Regions from separate parts of the Homo sapiens genome. Here region 1 is linked to region 2. The links are contacts of gene promoters, found by promoter capture Hi-C in human tissues and cell types (Jung and others, 2019). All regions are on one chromosome and are shown on one strand. The core of a region is centred on a gene start or on the middle of the fragment in contact, and the rest is flanking DNA. Distances in the headings are between cores, read along the strand shown.

What was found. Contacts are between HindIII fragments. The study calls those that stand out against the background at their distance.
Region 1: a fragment that was not itself captured here is called in contact with the fragment with the promoter of MYEF2 in region 2 in 1 of the 25 tissues and cell types used here (mesenchymal stem cells).

What each region holds. Positions count from the first base shown.
Region 1 is chr15:47,965,567-47,970,624 of GRCh38, reverse strand. All of the region lies in intron 1 of LOC124900354 (a long non-coding RNA gene), which reads right to left. All of the region lies in intron 2 of LOC102724553 (a long non-coding RNA gene), which reads left to right. Among named protein-coding and RNA genes, the nearest start is that of LINC01491, 120 kb to the right of the region's middle. The HindIII fragment of the contact is 4,615 bases long and covers 1-4,611 here.
Region 2 is chr15:48,174,861-48,179,636 of GRCh38, reverse strand. MYEF2 (myelin expression factor 2) reads left to right here and starts at 1,342. Exons shown (of 17, transcript NM_016132.5): 1 at 1,342-1,560. The coding sequence starts at 1,400. It also overlaps a transcript of CTXN2 not described here. RefSeq lists silencers at 1,101-1,200, 1,371-1,800, 1,831-2,000 and an enhancer at 747-1,398. The HindIII fragment of the contact is 10,011 bases long and covers 1-4,776 here.

The DNA of each region.
Region 1 (5,058 bases), core at 1,055-3,554, 210 kb after region 2:
TGAGCTTTCTTACCCACCTTCTCCTTCTATGTTATGTATTTTTGGCCTCCAAAGCCATTCTTTCTTCCACACTTTAGTCTGAGAAAGTGGTGCTTTCCTGTCCGACTGGGCAGGCTTCCCACTGTGTCCTCAACCCTGACTGTCTCTGAGGACTCAGGCTGCACTCTCATCCTTTCACGGCTCATCACCAGGATCTTCAGATCCCCCTCCCCAGTGGATCTTTTCTTCCAAAGACTTCAACTATGCATCGGCCTCCCTCATCCTGAAACAGCTCTGGGCCTTCATGTATAATGAGCTTAGAATGCTTTACCTGATTCTTTCTACTAAATTATGTCCTCAATTCTGTCCTTTCTACAGGTGCTCATTTGGACCTCCCCCAGGTGCCTTCTTTGAGCTCCATGGCCTGTCTTGCATTTCATGGCTCTGAACTCTTGTTGACCTTCAGAGCCCATTGTCCCAGTGTGTTTATTACCTTATTCTTGCCTTGTTTCCTAGAGATTATGCCCCCTTAGAAACATAACCCATTCATCTCTCCGTCAATTAATTAGCTAATTAATGGTTATATTGAAGCTGTTTACTGAGTGCCTACTGTGTGTCAAACACTATGCTAAGAATTAAGAATATAAACAAATATGGCAGCACTTCAAATTGAGACTTGCACAAAGAGTGGAAAACCACTAATTACGATGTAATAACCAAAGATTTGGTTGAATGTTCATATGTAATAGACACAGTGCAAAACCTATTCTTACATCACTTAAACTTCACGTGAAGGGGGAATTATTCACAATTTAAAGATGAGGCAGTTAATGTATAGAAAAAGGTTAGGCAACTCACCTGATATTATACAGCCAAGTGTGAGAGCAGGAGCCCAACCTCATTTACTTTTTAAATTCTACTATGCTTTCTACCATAGATATATTTATAACATAAATGAGAACCAAGAAGACAAACAAACCAAATCTCTGGGGAACAGAAGCCACTCTACAAAGTCTTCACAACGGAGCTAATATTTGATTTGCATTTTGGAGGAGAAATAGAAATTTGCTCAATGGACTGAAGTGTGGGCAGGAGAAAAAGGGAATCCTTGGCAGAAACACCGTAACATGGAATGGTGAAAAACAAAACAAAATACAATGAGATTAAGGAACTGCAGAAATACTTCTAAACCTGGAACATAGGGTATAAAAAAGGAAGACTCAAGATATGGTTCCAAGTTCCTTAGACCGTGGCTATATCATGAAGAGCCTTAGATGGCAAAGTAAAAAGTTTGAATTTTGTATTTTATGATCCTTAAAGTGCCTAGGAAAATATTAACACATATGAGCTATCCATATAATCGTTCTTGAACTGAAATTACAAGTATATAGAGTATGTGTCAGGAGGCTCTGAACTGGTGCCTGTAACTTTATGATGAGCTTACTGTTTTAGCTGCTGGAACATTTTAGCACCTTTCTTGACCTATTATTACATAAGTTTTTGTTGCCTTTCAACTTTTCGGAGAACAATTCTGCCATTTCTTTTTGAGTTTGAGCATTTTCCTACCTGCACAAAGGGAAGATGAGGTAATCCACATAACTGTTTTTTCTGTTTGAACATAATGCCAGAGACACCAACATCTGACATAACTCTTTTTCCTGATTTCTTGTGCATCCAAACAGGTATGGGCTGTAATGACTTTGGAAGATCCAAATAGCTATCATCTTGGCTGGAGAGAGGGTGACTTCCAAGCAAGGGCCTGTGCTCTGGCCTCACTCTCTGCGGCTCTGCAACATGAGCCTCAGCATCCCCTGTGCTACTCACTAGAAAGTGGACCTGACAGCTTTGGCAGGTAGAGCCTTGGGCTACAAAACCCTTCAGGCTGAGGTTGAAAATAAGGGCTCCCTGTTCCAGGGGTTATTGCTTGTTGCCCCCTGGGAAGTGGTGACTCACATAATCTGCATCTCTGTTTTCAATACACACCACAGAAAACTTCTTTCCTTTCTTCACCTTGAGTTGGTCATCAGCATGAAAATCAGACAGATCTTTCTAATGTGTGTTCCTTATAACATCAGTTCCAAGGGATGTTAATCCAATCAAGTTCCTGCAGTCAAATAGGGCAGGACCAAGTTTAGACTTCTCAGACTCCTTAACATTATAAGATACTTTCTAAATCTCCAAGAAGAATGGTGTTTTAAAAATTGCTTTGATTACAGAAGACTTTTCTTCCTGAGTCAAAATTGAGAGTACTGAGTGTTCCATGCAACACGTTTGGAACTTGATGCTCAGTGCTCTTATAGGCATAGAGTAACATGCATATTACAGTATATAAATAAGTACTTATTTACTTAGGATGCATGAGAATAAACTATTGCACAGATATGCATTTTCTGGATAACTGAACACAAACTCTGTTGAATACTAGACTGTGCATTAGTGTTACATATGTGGTGGGATAACATTTTGATAACATTTGAAATAACTCCTTTTTTGATTTTTTGTGCATCCATTTTTCCTTTCCCAAAGTTTTTTCTTCCCTGCATTTCTCTTTCTTCCTTTCCCCATTCCAAGCAGGGTCAGCCTTCTTTGGTTCATTGTCTCAGAGTAAGAAGGTGTCAGGGTGGAAGGCCGAAGTAGCCTATACGTCTGTCTGGCTTTTGTATTCCTCAAACCGAGGCCTTTAGAACAACACAGAGAACTCACAGAGTAGGCAAACGAAAGAGGATTTGGGGATACAGAGCCATGAAAAAAGAAGGGTAATCCCCCAGATTACAAATAGTGGCACTGTTGGGCAGAGAGAGGAGATAGGAGGGAGTGAAGAGGAGGTAGGGAGCGAAAGCAGGGGAGCCGAGGACAGAGGTAGAGGACGAGGACAAAAAGACATCATGAGGCTGGAAAGGAAACAGGCATTGAGTGTGCACCCAGCCTGACTGTAAAGAAAGATCTTTACCCTCTAAGACCAGGTCAGAGCAGCAGCGAGCCACAGCTGGTGTTGGGGAGCTGGCCAGCCACAGAGAGCTCACTACTAACCTGGGTGTGCACATGGCCCAGGACCTGGTGACCTGCTCTCCACTTACCCCAATGTTTTGACATTATTGACCCTTTCTTGGAATCTCTGATGGAACCTTAGAATGGGTGGGAGGATACTATAAAAGCTTGAGATTTGAATTCCTAATCAACTCGATGAGATAGGAGCCCCCAATAGAAATGATTGGGAATGAAAGAAAGTTAAATTTCTTGAAAATCTTGCTTTTATAAAGCATCATGCAATCTTTTCCATGGTTGGGGCTGTCTCGCAGCCAGGTGCTGAGGGTCTGTTGAGGAGTGAGCACCTTTGCAGCCGTGCCAATGTTGCAGGCCCCGGTGATTTTGCAGTTTTTATGTCTGCTTTTTATGTAGCTTTCCTGTCGTAAGCCCGAATTTCATTTCTTGATAATTATCATAGGTATACATAGGTCTAATTCTCTCCCTTTCCTCTCCAAATTTGCTCCTTTCATTGTGCTTTGGCCAGGAAACCAGATAACAAAGCTTCTGAGAATGATGTATAAAGGGAGAGGAAATCAGTTCTGAGGGCTGGCTCATTTTTCTCATCTACAAAATGACGGAGCTGTAATAGATCATCACCAAGGTCCAGTCCAGCTTGCACATTTTATGATTCCTCTGAATAAAGTATGTGAGCTTTTATGTGCCATTTTCAGAACATCTATTTGTCCCATTTCCTTATTCCCAGCCATGTTCTCAAGAAATGAGTTTGCTCCATTTGTGACCTCTTAAAAAGTGACATTATTTAACTTGGTATTTGTTAACTCAATTCACAATTCATTCATTCATTCTCAAAAAATTTTGAGCACCTTCTGCATACTGTGTGGTTGAATTACGAAGATTCGTGCATGATCTCTCCGTCAAGGAGTTCACAGACTAGGGCACTGACTTTCAATCTTTCCTGCAGTTGTGAATGAAGCCTGTTGGGACTCTATGACAGCCTGTTATATTAGAGGCCAGTATTTACTAAGCACATACTAGATGCCAGGTTCTGTTCCAAGTGCTTCAAAAGTAGCTTATTTTATCCTCAAATATCTACGAAGTAGTTGTCATTATTATCTGCATATACATGAAGAAAGTGAGACTCAGGCATGGGAACACACGGTTAATAAACATTTGGAACCAGAATTCACTCTTCAAGCAATACAAATCTAGAGCCCACATTCTGCTTCCTGGGGCTATGGTGCTTGTGAAATCAATAGCGACAAGAACAAGCACAGTAACCACACAGTAACAACAGCAGCCGTTTTGGCTATTCTATGCCACTTGCCATGCACTGTGCTAAGCTTTCAGTATTAATTATCTAATTTAAGACTAATAACAACTTCATGAGTGGGCACTTTCATTAGCTACATATTGCAGAGGAGAAACTCTTGACTTAAAAAGGTTAAACAACTTGCTCAGGATACACATCTAATAATGAGGGAAAATGGGGTACAAAGTGCTTTTTTTTTGAGACGCAGTCTCACTCTGTTGCCCAGGCTGGAGTGTACAGTGGCTTGATCTCGGCTCACTGCAACCTCTGCCTCCTTGGTTCAAGTGATTCTCCTGTCTCACCCTCCTGAGTAGCCGGGACTACAGGCGTGCACCACCATGCCTGGCTAATTTTTGCATTTTTAGTAGAGATGGGGTTTCACTATGTTGGCCAGACTGGTCTCAAACTCCTGACTTCAAATGATCCGCCTGCCTCGGCCTCCCAAAGTGCTGGAATTACAGGCCTGAGCAACCACGCCCAGCCCAAAGTGCATTTGTGGGGACAGTTTTTGGTGGCTCATGATCTTCATGTCCTCTAACCAAGTGGGAAGAGACAGATAAGGTATCCACTGATTTGCAGTAAGTATAGCGTGAAGTTCTTTGGGAGCAGAATAAATCAGTCTGCAGGTGGAGGGAAAGCTTCCCAGAAGAAGTCACCCTTGAGCTGAGTTTTGAAGGATAAGGAGGAATATAGGTTGAAAGCAATGAGGAGAAGGGAACCCAGGGTGGAGAGAATAGCACCTGCAAAGGCTGAAACAGGAGACAACAATGTGAGGCTAGGGA
Region 2 (4,776 bases), core at 93-2,592:
GAAATGAGGTGACTTGCCCAGGGAGTTATGGGCAAAAAGAGGCAGAGCTGGGGTTCTAACCCAGATTTTGTCTGTCACAATTGAATGCCCTTTCTGCGATTATAAATCTTATGTCTCAGAGTTGAATGAGAAACAATTTATACAGCAACTACAATAGCATTCTTATCATTAAAATGTTCTGATTATGTGTGTGTGTGTTTGTGTATGTGTGTGTGTGTATGTGTGTGTGTGATGAAGTAGCTGAACTTGGTATTTTTCGGTAGAGGGTAGGAAACTACACATTGAAAAGCCGAAGATGAAATTATGTTATTTGAGTATTACTTTCTAACTATAACTTTACCACTGATGTGTGTATGATATTCTGCAAAGTGACTAAACTGTACGTGTTTGCTTCTTCATGGAAAAAAAATTTGGGAAGGCATTTAAACTTTTCAGCTGAAAAAGGTTATGTCAATGTGAAAGATTATAGTACTCGAGAATTAGGAGTTGATTAAATTTAACGGTTTCCTTTTCATACTTAGGGGGAAAAATCTACGACTGTATTTTAAAACTCCATATGGCAATTAAATTTGAGAGCGTATAACTAACTACTTCACTAGAATTTCCATCAGTATACAATAAACACACAGTCAAAACCTCAAATGTCCATTATTAGCCCATCTAGTAGACGATATTTTATAATTATGGATTCCCCATATTGATTGATGTCCAGAGAAAAACTGCAGTCTTCTCTTACTAAGCTGATAGTTGAGTTCCTGGGAAATCCTCACCCCCTAAGAACAAATAATTCTCAAAGAAATTCAAAGTCATTCCTTTTGGTGAATTGCAATCAGTCATCAATAACTATTTATGGAATGTCCGAAGGGTGCCTAGGCATTGAAATGGCAAGAGACTTATATTTGCTTAATTCAAAGGATTTCTAAAGGCAGTCTGAGGACTTGCAAGAAGTCTTTAAAGATGCAAAGTGGTGTGTTCTTTAACTGCCCCTACCTGGAATGAATTGAACAGTCTGGGTGTTAGGGCTTTGATGTCTAATCCCGCTTTGCAAGCGAAGACTCCACTGGTGCCAAGCGACAGGCGGGCTGGTGGGCAGACATGGCACCACCACCGGGGGCTTTCAGGACTGGTCCAGCCCTCCCAGGCAGGTGTAGGGCCGACTGCAGCAACAGCGGCCCTGACCCCAGCTCCCATGGCTCCCCTCCCCCCGCACTCCCACCCCCCGCACCCGGCACACACCATCTCCCAGTCACCCAGTCTCGACCGGTTCTCGCGAGATCCGGGTTACTGAGCGCTCGGGGCCTTTTCAAATCGGGATCCGTTACCGCTTCCCCGGCAGCCGCCATTGTCGCGCTCGGAGCCCCTCAGCTCAGGCGGCCGAGGCGGAGGCAGCGGCGGCGGGATGGCGGACGCCAACAAGGCCGAGGTGCCCGGGGCCACTGGTGGCGACAGCCCGCACCTGCAGCCCGCAGAGCCGCCGGGCGAGCCGCGGCGAGAGCCGCACCCCGCGGAGGCGGAGAAGCAGCAGCCGCAGCACAGCAGCAGCTCCAATGGCGTTAAAATGTATTGTCTTTTCCTCCGGGAACCGGGGCGAGGTGGGGGGCGGGGAGTCTACCGGGCGGCTAGAGGCCGGGCTGTGCCCCGATGGGGGACAACCACCCCCAGACCCCGGCCCGCCCCCGGGCCATCGGCTTCCTGAGGAGCAGGTGCAGCTGGGCCGCTCCCAGGCCCTTCCCCGCCCGCCCCAGGCCTGGCCGCCTGTGGTCTGGGAGCCGGGGCTGGGGGCCCGGGGACCAGCGCTCTTCCCTGATTTCTAGCCCGAGACAGCGAACACCCCTCTTCCCTGACTTTGGTTAAAGAATCTTTGAGCAAAGCTCAGCGACCGCCACGGTTTGCAGGAAAATGGTCCCCCTTTAAGGACCAGTAGTTAGTGTTCATCACTAGGGAGTATCTAGGGATGACATCATCGGACATTTCCTCTTAACCACCGAGAACATATTTAAAAGGAATATTCCTGGCTTCTTTCTGAGCTTCACAAGTTTAGTGTTTTGTTGTTTTCTAAAGTGTATGTTCATTTTTAAACTGATTTATACCGAGAGGAAGTTTAATAATGTGCTGTTAGACTCTATGTTTTGTGTTACTCTTGAATTGGCTAGACGTACTTTAAAAAGGGAAATGTGCGATGTGCGTGGCTTCCCTTCCCACTGGGTAATGTGCGTCAGCTGTGGAGAGTATTTTTTTTTTTAACTCAGTGTATGATTATCTTAAGTTTGGTATAATAGATGGTTAAGATTTTTTTTTTCCCAAATGAAGGAAGACTTTTAAGGTCGCAGCTGTCACCAGTGCCTATAAAGAATTTAGTTGACCCCAATCCATAATAATTTCTGGTTCTAGGGAAATGTTATGCTCTCCTTTGTTCCTGTCCTGTGGGAGGATATGAAGTTAAGCGCTTACTTTCATATGCCTACCTCCTTAAACCTGAAGTTGAAAGTATGTTAATAATTAAGTGAAAACATCCTTTTCCTTCTCTGTTATGCCTCAGAGCAGAAAGCAATAGATATATGCTCACAGTAAAATAGACAAGGGAAAGGTCTTTCTGACCTTTGTATAAGCATGTTTGAAATTGTATGGTAAGAACTGGACCAGTCTGTGTAAAAGTTGGTGGCAAAAAAGATGGGGTAGCTCTCCCCAGCTCTTTGACACTCTTGCTCTCAAATGAGTTTGAACAGGATCGGCAGCATCTTCTAGGAGAATAGAGGTGCAGGTATAAGAGATTGGAACTTAGTGGAGTTTATTCCTGGATGAAGAGTGGTGCACCTCAGTAATTGAGGAACCAGAAAGGGAATGAAGTGCTTTCTACCATGCTTGCCAAAATGTGGGCTTTCTGGAATTTGGCATTAAAAATAGAAATGAAAACCGGTGGAATGATAAACTTAAAAATATGTGCTATTCATATCTAAACACGAGTATACATGCCACCTTTTCTCCTGAACAAAAAGTGCAGCCTTGAATTACAGAGAGAAGCCCTCCTATACTTGGGTATGATTAGTTTTGATATAGGGGAAGTTTGGTATCTAAACCTCCATCAGATTTTCTATTCCCTTCTAAAGTCTCTTCATGATTTAGCAAGACAGGAAAAGAGAAAGGAGAAAGGTGGAGAAAGAATCCTTTTCTAATTTAGGAAGAGAAAAATATAAGGTGAAGAAATGAAGAAATATTACTAGTAAATACAGATTATTTCCATATTGCTTATAATTCGCCTCTCCCTTTCTCTTTTTCCCAGAAGTTGAATCGAGTCCAATTTACTCTCAGGGATTTCTCTTACTGTCTATTCCATAAGAAGATTTGTGATGGTCCAGCATGAGTCATTCAAACTGAATAACTAGCGACCTAGTCCTTTTTTTTTTTTTTTTTTTTTTTACTTCGTGAACTAGTAGGAGTGGATAACAACCCCAATACATAAACCTTGAGTTGATTACCATATACTTTTAATAATAAAAATAATTCATTGTTGATTATAAAAATTACCATAATATTGCCCCAAATTATGTATTGGTTGGAATTGAACAGAGTACTGCTTGTCATCAGGATTGAAATAATATTTGCTGAGGTTAATCCATAGTTATTGAGGGTGGGAGACCACTATGTCTTATTCTTCTTTGTATTCTTAAGGCCTAGTAAATATTTGTGGAAGAAATGCAGAAGTGAACTTTCATGCTTATGAAACTCATATACAGGGAATTTAGTTTGCATATTCACACCTTTAGAAAAGATCCGTTTTCCAACTGTAGTCTTCTTCTTTAACGCCAAATGGTATACTAGCTCTCCTTTTCTTAAAAATGAATAGGAGGGAAAAGAGCAGTATTATTATAACTTTATTATTCATGTGTAATTAAGTATAACTTTGGAGTAGGTAGAGATTGAGAGTTATATTAGGGTACTATAAAATATTAAGCATTGGAGCAAGGTAATGTGTTCTTTAGCTGAGTGATTTTTATTAGGAATAAAGACTAGAACTGTTTCCCCCAGCTTTATTGAGGTAAATTGACAAAAATTGTATATTTTGAAGTGTACAGTGTGATGGTTTGGTATACAAATAAATTGTGAAATGATTACCACAATCACGCTAATTAACGTATCTGTTACCTCGCATAGCTACCATATTTTTTGGTGTTGAAAATACTTAAGATCTATTCTTTAAGCAAATTTCAAGTATACAGTAAATATGTTAAGTATAGTCACTATACTGTACCTTAGATCTACAGAACTTACTCATCTTATAACTGAAAGTTTGTGCCCTTAGAACATTTCCCCATCCCCTGCTGCCCTCCACCTCTGGTAAACACCCTTCTACTCTCTGCTTCTGAGTTTGACTTTTTTAAAAGTCTGTGTGTAAGTGAGATCATGTAGCATTTGTCTTTCTGAGTCTGGCTTTTTTCACATAGCCCAATGTCCTCTAGGTTTATCTCTGTTGTTGCAAATGGCAAGATTTTGTTCTTTTTGTAAGGCTGAATAATAATATTCCAGTGTGGATGTGTTGTGTAAACATAAAATATAATATATATCATGTTTCCTTTAATCATTTATCTGTCAATGGACACTTAAGTCGTTGTTTCCATATCTTGGGTATTGTGGATGATGCAGCGAACATGGGAGTGCAGATATCTCCTTGAGATAGTGATTTCATTTTCATTGGATATATACCCAGAAGTGGCATTGATGAATCATGTGGTAGTTCTGTTTTTAATTTTTTGTGGACCCTTGATGCTGTTTTCCATA